Linked DNA regions of Homo sapiens: regions 2 and 3 are each linked to region 1. The links are contacts of gene promoters, found by promoter capture Hi-C in blood cells and fetal thymus (Javierre and others, 2016). All regions are on one chromosome and are shown on one strand. Each heading gives the region's core, a stretch centred on a gene start or on the middle of the fragment in contact. The rest is flanking DNA. Distances are from core to core; before and after follow the strand shown. Region 1 holds the start of KLHL2 (kelch like family member 2). Region 2 overlaps PALLD (palladin, cytoskeletal associated protein). Region 3 holds the start of HPF1 (histone PARylation factor 1).

The links. The method cuts DNA at HindIII sites, captures the fragments that hold promoters and counts their contacts. A CHiCAGO score of 5 or more calls a contact.
Region 2: a fragment that was not itself captured here is called in contact with the fragment with the promoter of KLHL2 in region 1 in 1 of 17 cell types (activated CD4 T cells); the score reaches 7.1 in activated CD4 T cells.
Region 3: the fragment with the promoter of HPF1 here is called in contact with the fragment with the promoter of KLHL2 in region 1 in 3 of 17 cell types (total B cells, non-activated CD4 T cells and activated CD4 T cells); the score reaches 9.2 in total B cells.

The regions. Positions count from the first base shown.
Region 1 is chr4:165,205,670-165,209,352 of GRCh38, reverse strand. KLHL2 (kelch like family member 2) reads right to left here and starts at 1,792. Exons shown (of 15, transcript NM_007246.4): 1 at 1,451-1,792. The coding sequence starts at 1,476. RefSeq lists a silencer at 1,491-2,140 and an enhancer at 1,671-2,171. The HindIII fragment of the contact is 2,287 bases long and covers 474-2,760 here.
Region 2 is chr4:168,507,555-168,511,436 of GRCh38, reverse strand. It overlaps PALLD (palladin, cytoskeletal associated protein), which reads right to left. Exons shown (of 22, transcript NM_001166108.2): 2 at 1-14. The region is part of intron 1 of LOC107986198 (a long non-coding RNA gene); the gene reads left to right. Among named protein-coding and RNA genes, the nearest start is that of PALLD, 12 kb to the right of the region's middle. The HindIII fragment of the contact is 1,765 bases long and covers 1,349-3,113 here.
Region 3 is chr4:169,755,382-169,759,298 of GRCh38, reverse strand. It overlaps HPF1 (histone PARylation factor 1), which reads left to right and starts at 1,355. Exons shown (of 8, transcript NM_017867.3): 1 at 1,355-1,469. The coding sequence starts at 1,422. It overlaps LOC107986240 (a long non-coding RNA gene), which reads right to left and starts at 1,236. Exons shown (of 3, transcript XR_001741529.2): 1 at 1,075-1,236. RefSeq lists an enhancer at 1,438-1,507. The HindIII fragment of the contact is 1,294 bases long and covers 275-1,568 here.

The sequences.
Region 1 (3,683 bases), core at 543-3,042:
ACATGTTACATATTATATACCATATGTTGGCTAAATACAGCTAGCATATCCTGCTTTAAGTGCTTCTGAGCCTGGGCAGACCCCCGTGTGCTCATGCTGCTGATGTGAACCATCCACCATCATATTTCCTAGGGGTTCAGGTGCCTTCCTCCAGCCTGCTGAAGAACATGACCAAATCTCAGAGCCCTCAAAGCCACAGCTATCGAGAGGTGACTAAGCCCCTGCTTCTGTCAGCCCAGGAAGGCCAATTCAAGAGTCTTATCTACCCCCTAGATTTCCACGACCTGTTCCACTCAAGCTAAAAATTCTGAAACGCACTTTTAGAAACTGTCGTTCCAGAATCCCATTAGCTCTCCTAAAAGGGCTGAACATCAAAAAATTATTCAACCCAAGCCAAGTATCCTTATTTTGGCTGGAATTCTGCCAAATAACCACAAGAGACTGGTGCGGTACAATCGGCATGGAGTGAAGCTTGCCAAATTTGACCGGAGAACGACAAGCCTCCATGAATAAGCTCTCATGAAAAGGTAAACCATTCTTCAGGATGAGGTTTGTCTGCGATTTGAAAAGTCAGATTCAAAGGACTCTTGTTCCTTCCTAAGAGAAGAGGGAACCAAAATTGAAATTTTCGAAACTCCTGGGTATTTACAGTTCACTTTTACCAAGATGTTTTTAAAACTAAAAACTAAAATTTAAAAAAAAAACCCTTGTTCTGAATAATGCAATAATGTCTTCTACATAATGTTTCAGCTATTATTTCTAGAAAGTAATTCTGTTGCCAGTGATCTTGAATGTACTTGGGTACCAAAGAAAAAAGACACCTGTGCCTGGCAGGTCGATACGCTACTAATTTGCCCGAGGTACGAACGAAACAGAAGATGCTGATTTCTGGATAAAACGTTCTGCAGTGCCAGGTAAAAGAGGTCACATGCCCTGAACGGCCGCCGCTCATTTAGAGTGATGCAAAAGCTCCTCAGATATTAATTTTGTTAGAAATTCGGGGAATCAAGCAACCTAAGATCAATTCATTTAGACAGCGGGTGACTGGTACTTTCCAGTTTCCTTTTTTCAACGGACTCAGTGCATCCTAGCCTGATCTCTTATAAAGGGGTAGGCAAACTCGGCACCAGGTGCCCATGCATTTCAGGGAGGTACACACAGGACCTGCAGGGTCACCCATGCACAGCCCCACCCCGAATCTTCTATCCGCCCGAGATGGGGAAGACCCTTCCCCAGAAATCCTGGGCAGCGTTTTAAGTCACCGCCTGGCCAGGCTGAGTTTCCGTCCGCGTCCGCTCAGGACTGCGGGCACAGCGCCTCGTCACGCCCCGCATCTCCCACCTCCCGCCGGCCCCGGCGGCTGTCCCCAGAGCTGCGCCCGCGGCCGGCGACACGCGCCGCAGCGGCGCGCTTATCCGCAGCGGCGCAGCCCGCCCGCCCGCTCACTCACGCGGGAGGCAGCGGCGGCGTCTCCATTGTGGCTCCTCTCGGGCTTCAGAACGCAGGCACCGACCAACACAGCCAGCACCATTCCAGCCGCGGACGCCGGCACTGCCCGCCCGCCGAGCCGCGTTCCATCCGCCCCGGAGGGGGCGCCGCGCTCTCCTCACCGCGCGCCACCACCTGCGGCGGCGGCCCCCGCGGCCATGGCCCGCTCGGCCGGGCGCGCTCCGTCTACTGCGCGGCTCCCGCGCTCGCCCGAGTGCGGGGCGGCGGCGACGGGACCGGCGGGCGCGCGGGCTCGGCCACTTCCGGGTTCGGCCCCGGCCGGCGCCGACGCTGTGACGGGACTGCGATGCGGCCTCCCGCGGCGGCCGAGTACCCCTCCCTCGGCGCCTCCCCTTCCTCCTGCTGCTGCTGCTGCCGCTGCCGCTGCCGCTTCTGCTTCTGGAGGCGGGCGGGCGGGCGCCAGCCGGGTGCGGGGCGGGCGTGCCCAGACGCTGGCCCGCAGGCCGGGACGCGGGCGGCGGCCGCCCACAGCGGGTCTCTGGATCGCCGGGACGGGGGCGCTGGAAAATGGGAGCGGAGGGGGTTCTCCGTGCAGAAAAAGGGCGGCCGAACGCACGGCGTAATAATGCTCGGTATCCACTTGCTGCTCTGCTTCGCGGGCGTGTACACGTTATTCTTTTCATTTGTGCCTGTACCCAGGGAGATGGGAAGGGTAGGCATAACCAACCAGTGTCCTTACAAAGGGTGGCACTGAGGCAAGAAGAAGTGATTTGCCTGTCCAGTGTCCCAGGCAGGAAGCAGGCTCTCCCTCCTCAGTATGCTAGCCATTCCTTGGACAAGTGAAGTGAGCACCTGCTAAGCAAGGTTTTAGTGCTGCGGCTGTGACAGCAAAACCAAGTCTTTCTGCTTGTGGAGCTGTCCATCTAGACGGGGTGACGGAAACAGTAAGTGATGCTTACCATGAAGAAACATAAATGAGGATGAGGAGAGGGAAAGAGATTTTAGAAAGAGTGGTCAGAGAAGGCCTCTCAAAAGGCATGAGTTAAAGAGATGGAATAACAGGGGCTTTGAGTAATGCAAAGAATGCCTAGGGCAGAGGGAAGAGCAGCGTGGAGACTGCTAAGCAAGATCCTGCCTGCCTTGTTGAGGAACGGGAAGGAGAACAGTGCAGCTGGTGGTTCTCCAAGTATGCCCGCTGGAAGCAGTAGCACCTGCGAACTTGTTAGAGATGCGAATTTTCCAGTCCCACTTTAGCCCTACTGAACCAGAAACTCTGGGGGTGGGGCCCAGCAGCGTGTGCTTTAACAAGCTTTCCAGATGATGCTTGCTGGGGCCGCGAGGGTGGGAGACCCTCTAATGAAGCAGAGTGAGGTCAGGAGGACGGCGGCAGGAATGGGTGTGGCGAGGAGTAATCACAGATCACCCAGGCCTTGCAGGCCGTGATAAAGGACTTGGCTTTTACTGAGATTAGAAGCAATTAGAAAGTGGTGAGTAGCTTGATCTGATCATTAAAAGGATGACTTTTCTGGGATTTGTTTGAAAATATCCCACAAAAAGAAGGACAGAGGTCGGGCGCCGTGGCTCACGCCTGTAATCCCAGCACTTTGGGAGGCCGAGGCGGGCCGATCACCTGAGGTCGGGAGTTCGAGATCCGCCTGACCAACATGGAGAAACCCCGTCTCTACTAAAAATACAAAAAATTAGCCGGGCATGGTGGTGCATGCCTGTAATTCCAGCTACTCGGGAGGCTGAGGCAGGAGAATCGCTTGAACTAGGGAGGCAGAGGTTGCGATGAGCCGAGATCGTGCCATTGCACTCCAGCCCGGTCAACAAGAGCGAAACAAACTCCGTCTCAAAAAAAAAAAAAAAAAGGACAGAGAAGTGAATAGATGAATATTTGCAAAATGTTAATTTTTGAGGCTAAGTGTTGGGTGCATAGGGGTGGTCATCATTTATGTGTGTTTATGTGTATGTTTTAAAAGATAATAATGGGCCGGGCGCGGTGGCTCACGCCTGTAATCCCAGCACTTTTTGGGAGGCCGAGGCGGGCGGATCATCTGAGGTCAGGAGTTCAAGACCAGCCTGTCCAACATGGCGAAATCCCGTCTCTTCTAAAAATAGCCGGGTGTGGTGGTGGGTGCCTGTAATCCCAGCTACTGAGGAGGCTGAGGCAGGAGAATCACTCGAACCCAGGAGGCGGAGGTTGCAGTGAGCCGAGATCGGGCCACTGCACT
Region 2 (3,882 bases), core at 982-3,481, 3.3 Mb before region 1:
TCTGAAACTGTGTTCTGAAAGACAGCATAGAATGTCATTAGTAGCAATGATTTTTTCCCCATTTTAATCATAAAACTTGTAAGTCACAAATTGGGAGAAACATTAAAGTGAATGAATATAAGTTTTCTTTATTTTACAAGTTGGAAGAAATATCAAGTATACTTGTGTTGATCATTTTATGATTTTAATACATGCCCTGTGAGTGCTATCAAATATCTCACTAGGCAGTATTAAATCATTCAAAAAGATGATGTGTGCAGTAGGCACTATTAGTAGGATAGGGCTCACAGTCAGCCCCCCGCCCACCTTACTCAAACTCTAATTGATTAATGTAATGAGATCAATAGAATATTGATATTTTTAGTAAATCTGACTCTGATTATCCAACCCTAAACCACAAAATGCATTTTAAGGATTCCAATTTTCATTTATTTATAGTTTTCAGTGAAATCTTTGAAACTTTATTGTCTCCAGTTATGTGCATTCATATTCATTCACTCAACAGTCCAACAGATGGTAATAATCACTTATTAAATTTCAGGTGCTGGAAGTACAGCTGTGCTGTATGCCAGGGATGGGCAAACTTTTCTGGAAAGGGCCAGATGGTAGATACTCTTGACTTTGTGAGCTGTTCAGCCTCTATTATAATTACTCAACTCTGCATGAGCATGAAACCAGCCAAAGATGATGGAAATGAATGAGCATGACTGTGTGCCAATAAAACTTTATGGACACTCATATTTGAATTTTATATCATTTTAATGTGTTAAAACTATTATTATTTTGATATTTAATTTTTAAACAATAGTTTTAAAATGAGAAAAACATTCTTAGTTTGCAGGGCATACAAAAAGGGTTGGGATGGATTTGGCTCAGGGGCTGAAATTTGCTGACCCTTCATCCAGACTTACAGCACAGTTATCATGTTCAAGGAGTTAAAAGTCATGGGAGGTAGTAAAGTGGAGGAGATAGAGAAGATATTAAACAAATAATATGTTAATAATATAAAATTTTGATAAGGCTTTTAAGGAAAGTGAGAAAAACCTGGGGGCTATGAGAGTCTAATCTAATCTTAAAGGGCATGAGATAACTAGAGGCCTGGCATAGAACACTTACATGGGAATATCAGCAGAATTAAATAAAAGGTATTTCATTATCTGTAAGCTATTACAGCTTTAAATTCCACTGACATTTTGAACTTTATATTGTGAAGCAATGACTCCTTGTTACTCTAAGTGTGCCATTCTTTTGCTATATATTGTTCATAGAGTACTGAGAGGGACGATCTAGAAAACATCAGCGGTGATGTCTGCCACAAGACTGAGTCTAGGAGTGAATAATGGAAGCTTCCTGGATGTGGTGAACCTCAACTTTCTACCTTGTGTCAGTCAGGAGTAAACTTGGTGGGACATTCCCCAGAAATGGTGTGTCTTCAGAGGACTGAATTGAGTTGCTTGCGTAGAAGTATCTTCCCATCTAAGAAAATCTCTAATTTCAAAATACATTATGCAAGAGTCGAGGGGGTTGTAGAAATCCAGCTCAAGAGCCTACTGCTTCACTGGATGCAGTGAGTCATAGACCTGCTGTTTAACAGAGGGTAGTTAATCAGAGATCCTGAAACTCAATGTTAACATACCCCATCTTCTTAAGTGGAATACTGTACTTTTGTCTTACATGTCTTCTTAGAAAGATAGTTACTTTTTTTGTGCCTGAATTATTAGATTCACCACATGCTAGCCCTACTCTATCTACTGAACCATATTTCGCACTCTTCTTCAAGTAAATCCTTAATCCTTCAGAGGGTGTCATCATTCTCCCTGACTTTACTAACCCAAATATCACTCTAATTCCTTTGTCCAGTCTGTGCTGCAGGATAGAAACATCCTGACTGGTCTCCAGTTATTCAGATATGGCTCGTATATGAGGAACAATTATATTCAGTGTATTTTTAATACTTGAATGTATTTTCTTCATGAGAAACAGGCAGTTAAAGTATGATTTTGAAAAGGCAAAGGTATAGTAATATATAAAAATCAAATAACATGTATTTGAGCTTTTATTTAACAATTGAAAAAATCAGTAATATATTACAATTATTTCAAAGGAGACGCTGAAGATGAGACACATGTAGGCAATCAGGCATGCTGATATGAAGTTGGTAATAGATTTGAAACTGGTTAATATCTATAGAGCAATAAAATACAATGTTTGGAATCATAAGAGTGGAAAACTATAGCATTTCTACTAGAAAAAAAATCATTTGTATATCTATGCACCAGTATAATTTGCATTGTTTTTAGATTTTTCCAACTTACAGAGTTGTAAAATTGTAAAGACAATAAAAGGCATAGACCCCTGTGGAATTAGATGACCCTGGAACGTCCACCAGAGCCAATCCAGCAATGGTACTGGGTGTCTATTGCAAGGACACCCAGTACCATTTTGTATATTGCAAAACGTTTTATAGTTTGTCCTACCAAGGCAGCCTGGTTTCTCTCAGTAATGAGCTCTGAAGTACAATTGGCCCCTCAGTCAGCACACATGGTAGATAACTTTAGGGGAAGCCAGGATCAGGATCAACTCTTACAAGGTGTGGGGAGATGAGCCATTAGGTAACATGGATCCAGAAGAGACATGAAGGTGGAGAGGGGGAGACTCGGGGGCTGAAAGTAGGTTTGTGTACCAAAGGCACAACAGACTATATTTTCATTTATTGCATTTCTTGTAAAATTTATTTTTCTTTGAAAGAAAGCTACTGTGTTTTTTATTTGTTATTTATTTATTTATTATGGCCTGAAAGAAATTCAGTTTTTGTGTTGAAATCAGTGCTAAAGGAGATTGAAAAACATTTTGTGTCAACCAAACCTGTGGTAGATTAAGCTGAAAATCCAAGGAAATAATTGCAACAAAACCTTTGATTCTTGACATGACGAAATTGTGAAGCCTAAGCTGGGATAGATGTACTACATGGACCAGAATTACCCACTCGAAGTGTATTTATGGACTATCTACCACATGCCTGGTAGTGCGCTAGGGACGGGGATATGACCTTGAAAAAGAGAAGGTTTTTGCCCTCATGGAACTTAATACAAATTACAACTAAATAATAAGCTTATATAATTGAGTATGTCTTTTTTTAAATTGTATTTTATTTTTTAAATTGACAAATAATAATTATACATAATTATGGGGTACCTAGTGATGTTTCAATACGTACAATTTATAGTGATCAGATCAGGGCAACTAGCATATTCATCTCTAACATTTATGATTTCTTTGTGTTGGGAACATTCAACATCTTCCTTCTAGCCATTTGAAACTATAGAGTATGTTATTGTTAGCTATAGTCATCCTGCAGTGGTATAGAAAAACAAAGTGCTGTGATAGCACCTAGAAGCAACAGCAAGGTCAGGATCAGGAAACCTTTGTGAAAGAGAGAAAGCTGAAAGAATGATGTGTGAGGGATGAGGAAGAGCGGGGAGGTGAAGAGGATACTGGCAAATATGTATTTTAAGACTTGGATCCCAGAGAGCACATGGCAGACTCAGGTAATTCTACTAAGCATTTCAGCTAAACAGAAATCTATCTGGAGATGGGAAAATAACCAGAGATAAGGCTAGAAAGCAGGAGTTAGGTCAGAGAGGGCCTGGAGCCATGCAGAGAACTTGCATTTTATGTTATGGGTAGTCAGTAGGCAAGGAAGAGTGTTAAGTCCTTGAGAAACATCACCAGACTTACATTTTTGAGAGATAACTGATTGCAGTCTGGATCCGGGACAGAGGTAGGGAAAGAGGAAGACAAGACTGACAGTAGGGCGGTCCGTGAGAAGGCTTGTGCAGTAATCCAGGGGGTGCACACATTTATCATGGTTTCACGTTTGGT
Region 3 (3,917 bases), core at 106-2,605, 4.6 Mb before region 1:
GACCATCCTGGCTAACACGGTGAAACCCCGTCTCTACTAAAAATACAAAAAAAAAAAAAATTAGCTGGGCGTGGTGGCGGGCGCCTGTAGTCCCAGCTACTCCGGAGGCTGAGGTAGGAGAACGGTGTGAACCCGGGAGGTGGAGCTTGCAGTGAGCTGAGGTGGCACCACTGCACTCCAGCCTGGGCAACAGAGCGAGACTCCGTCTCAAAAAAAACAAAACAAAACAAAACAAAACAAAAAACACTGGAAACAGAGAAAAGATCCTAAAGCTTCTTGAGACAAAACAAAACAGAAAGGAAAGCAGGTTACATATCAAGAAATTTAGTGACCTGTGAAGGAGAAGGAAATATAACGACATAGTTTCTTAACAATTCTGGAAGCTAAAATATTGCGGAGCAAGCCCTCCAATATTCCGAGTGAAAGTTATTTTCAACCTAGAACTGTGCTCAGCCAGAATAAAAACATTTCCAGACATGCACACTCTGTGGGAAAAAAGACCTGGCAGCAACCTCTCTCAAGGAACTATTGGCGGATATGTTCCACAACATGAGGGTATATAATCAAGAAAAAGGAACACCCAGATTGAGGAAATAGAGAACTCATCTCAGGAATGAGGAATAAGACCTTCCCAGGATGGATGTGAAGGAGGTCCAAGGACATCAGTTGAGAGTTGTGCCTTCCAAATTTTATGTGCATAGGAATTACCAGGGGATCTTGTTGCGATGCAGATATTGATTCAGTAAGTCTGGGTAAGGCCTGAGATTTGGCGTTTTAACAAATTCCCTCAGGATGCTGAGGCCGCTGGTTCAGGGACTACACTTTGCATATCAGCGGTGTAGAGGAAAAACAGTCCAAATTGTACCAAGAAGACGACGGTACAGAGACAGAGACCGACAGACATTTATTTCCTTCTTGGAGACAATCGGGAATGAATTAGTGTAAGCCAATAACCGTACAGTAGGGTAGGGAGAGGGATGGAGGAGAAGGAGAAAAGGATTAATATTTTAAGTAAATATAAATGAAGAAAAAACAAGGAAGGGGCTGTATTGAGAACAGCCGCATACATCCAACCTTGCCTCTAGTAGACACCTGAAGAGGAAGGTTGGACCACTCTAAGGATTCAGATTCAGTAGTCTGGGGGGTCTCTGGAGCGACCCTGGAAGATGCTCCAGAAAGCCTAGATGCAGACTACGCTGACAGAAGACGCTCCTTGCACGCGCCCAGCACGGGAGTGGGCGGGGCCTCAACGCGTCCGGTGCCAGGTCTCAGGGGGCGGGGAATGGGCGGAGCCTTTCCCCTAAATTGGCGAGCCCGGGCGGCGCTGAAATTCGGCTTGGAGGCTTTTGAACCCGGAAGCGGTTGGCGGCGCTCGGAAGCGGCCGCGGATCGGGGAATTCTGCTGGCGCTGCAGCTGCAGAATGGTCGGCGGTGGCGGGAAGCGCAGGCCCGGCGGAGAGGGGCCGCAGGTACTGCCGGAAAGGCTGTGCGGGCTACGCGGGGCGCTTTGGGTGACAGCCAGGGCACCAGGAGGCAGCGCTTTTCATTCATCCAGTGACTATTAAGCTTGCTGTGTGTCCAGGGGCTGCGGTTTGCTGCGGGGATCCTGCCCAGGGCCGCTGTTTCGCGCTCTGCAGGGGGTTGGACCAGGAAAGTAGCTCCTCTGCATCTTCTGCCCAGCTCCTCTTGGAGCATTTCCTGGGGAAACGGATTAAGCCAACCAATGGTTCATTCGCCCAGCCAGATTGATTGGGAACCGATTACATACCTGACATTCTGTGGGGCGCTGCGGATTTGGGGGTCAACCTGCTTGCTCCTGCTGCTTGTTGAGCCCTCGGCCTGGGGAGGAGGGGCACAAGCAAATATGCATTCTACTGTGACTTTTTTGTTTGGGATTATAACGCTGGTGTGTAGAAAGTGCTATGGAAACACTGAAGGAGGATTTAACAAGTCCCAGGGGGTGTTAAAGAAGACTTTTAAGACAACTCTTTGAAAATTGGTTTTGAAGGCAGAGAAGTAAGATTCTGAGACATAAAACTGTAGGAGATGTTTGGGCGTAGCGGAGCGTTCGGCTTGGCTGGAGCCAGGGAAATGGGAAAATAAGAGGGACCTGATCATAAAAGCACTACTGAGAGGGGAGGAGGAGAGAGTGTGTGCATTCTCATACTTTACTACGATTTCGGAAGTTCTGTAACCACTACAGTAGCAATAAGGGGAATCAGGAAAGAAGTGCCATTGTGATAACTAAAGTTTTAGAAAAGTTACTCTGGTAGTGTCATAAATCGGACAGGGTGAGACATTCTTAGAGGGCTTAACTAACTGTTAAAGGGCCATCGGTATAGGCATCCTTCATATTGGGTCATGCATTCTAGGAAGACCAGGGTAAAGAAGAAGTGTAGCCTCTGAAGGGGACAGCTGTTCTAAATCCTAGTTGTTAGGGCTATGGAGATGCTGAACTAGTGTGTGAGTAAAGGCACAGCTGAAAAAATTCTCTTTTTGAAGGTGCAGTGAAGAACTGCTTTGGTGGAGTGATGTGCTTAACTAGAAATACAATAACAGAAATGAAGATGAGTCTGTAGAGACTATAACCGTAATGGCCAGCATTTGTATATTATGTGCTAGGACCGTTCTGTGTATTTTTACATATAATAACATTCCTTGTAACAACCCCGATATAGGCACTGTATGCCCTTTTTGCAGATGAGAAAACAAAGCACAGAGAGGTTAAGTAACTTGCCTAAGGTTGGAAATCAGTAGAGTCAGGAGTCAACCCAGGCAACCTAACTATTATGCAAAACTGCCTTTCAGCAAGGCAGATTAAGCCTTTTCTAACATCTTAAGTTGGAGCCAGTCTTTGAACGTCTGAACAAAGACAGTTATGAAAACAGAAGATAGGATAGCTCAGGACTTCATATGTTCCTACTGTTCTATATTTGATGTTGGAGAAGCAGCATAGTGAAGTGGTTGAGGATCTGCTGTGGACCCAGATTTAAACCTGAGTTTAAATCCCTTCTCTTCCACTTCCTAGTTAGGGACGTAGGGAGGTTAACCTCAGTTTCCTCAGCTGTACGATGAGGTTAATGGTATCTAGTGCATGAGACAGTTGAGGACTAAATGAGTTAATCCACAGAAGGTGCTTAGAACAGTGAAACAGCACAAAATAAGTTCTCAGTAAGTATCACTTAACTACTTGTTTTTACTATTATATTATCTTTACTATTACTATTTGCTATTATTGATACTCACTTTTGGATTCATTGTTCAACAGGCTTTTTGTTGAACGTAATTTTTTTTATAAATCAGACACATTATAATCCTTGGCATAATAAACTGTTACCATATTCATGATCGTCTTTGACCTTATTTATGTTAAGTAATGTAACAAACACCAGTGAACCCATTGCCCAATCCCAAAGCTGAAACAGACAATAGCTCTACATCTACACGTGTTCCTCTCCTATCCGTTCAGCCTTCTTCCTGTCAATTATTTTCAGTGTAGCTATCCTGAATTTTGTTTTCCCTTGCCTTTTAAAAATAGGCTTATCTCCCATGAGTGTATACCTAAACAATATTTATTCTTAGTTTTTGAACTTCATAAAAAGGCTATCATGCTGCATATAATCAAGAGCTTTTTTCCTCATTAAAAATATTGAATATAGGTTGGTCCATATTGTGTAGCCATAGAGTAACCATTCGGTAAATGACGGAGATTGGTTCCAGGACCTTAGGAGAGCATACACTAATTTTTAAAGCAACAAGAAAACAAACCATCTCATTAGCCAAAGATAACACAGTTAATAGTCTAGTATACAGTAACAAATTTCCATATATCCCCAAATCTGAGCATACCCAAGTTCCAAAGTTGGTCCTGTGGAACCCGAGTATACGAAAAGTTGGCCCTCTCTATAAGTGGATTT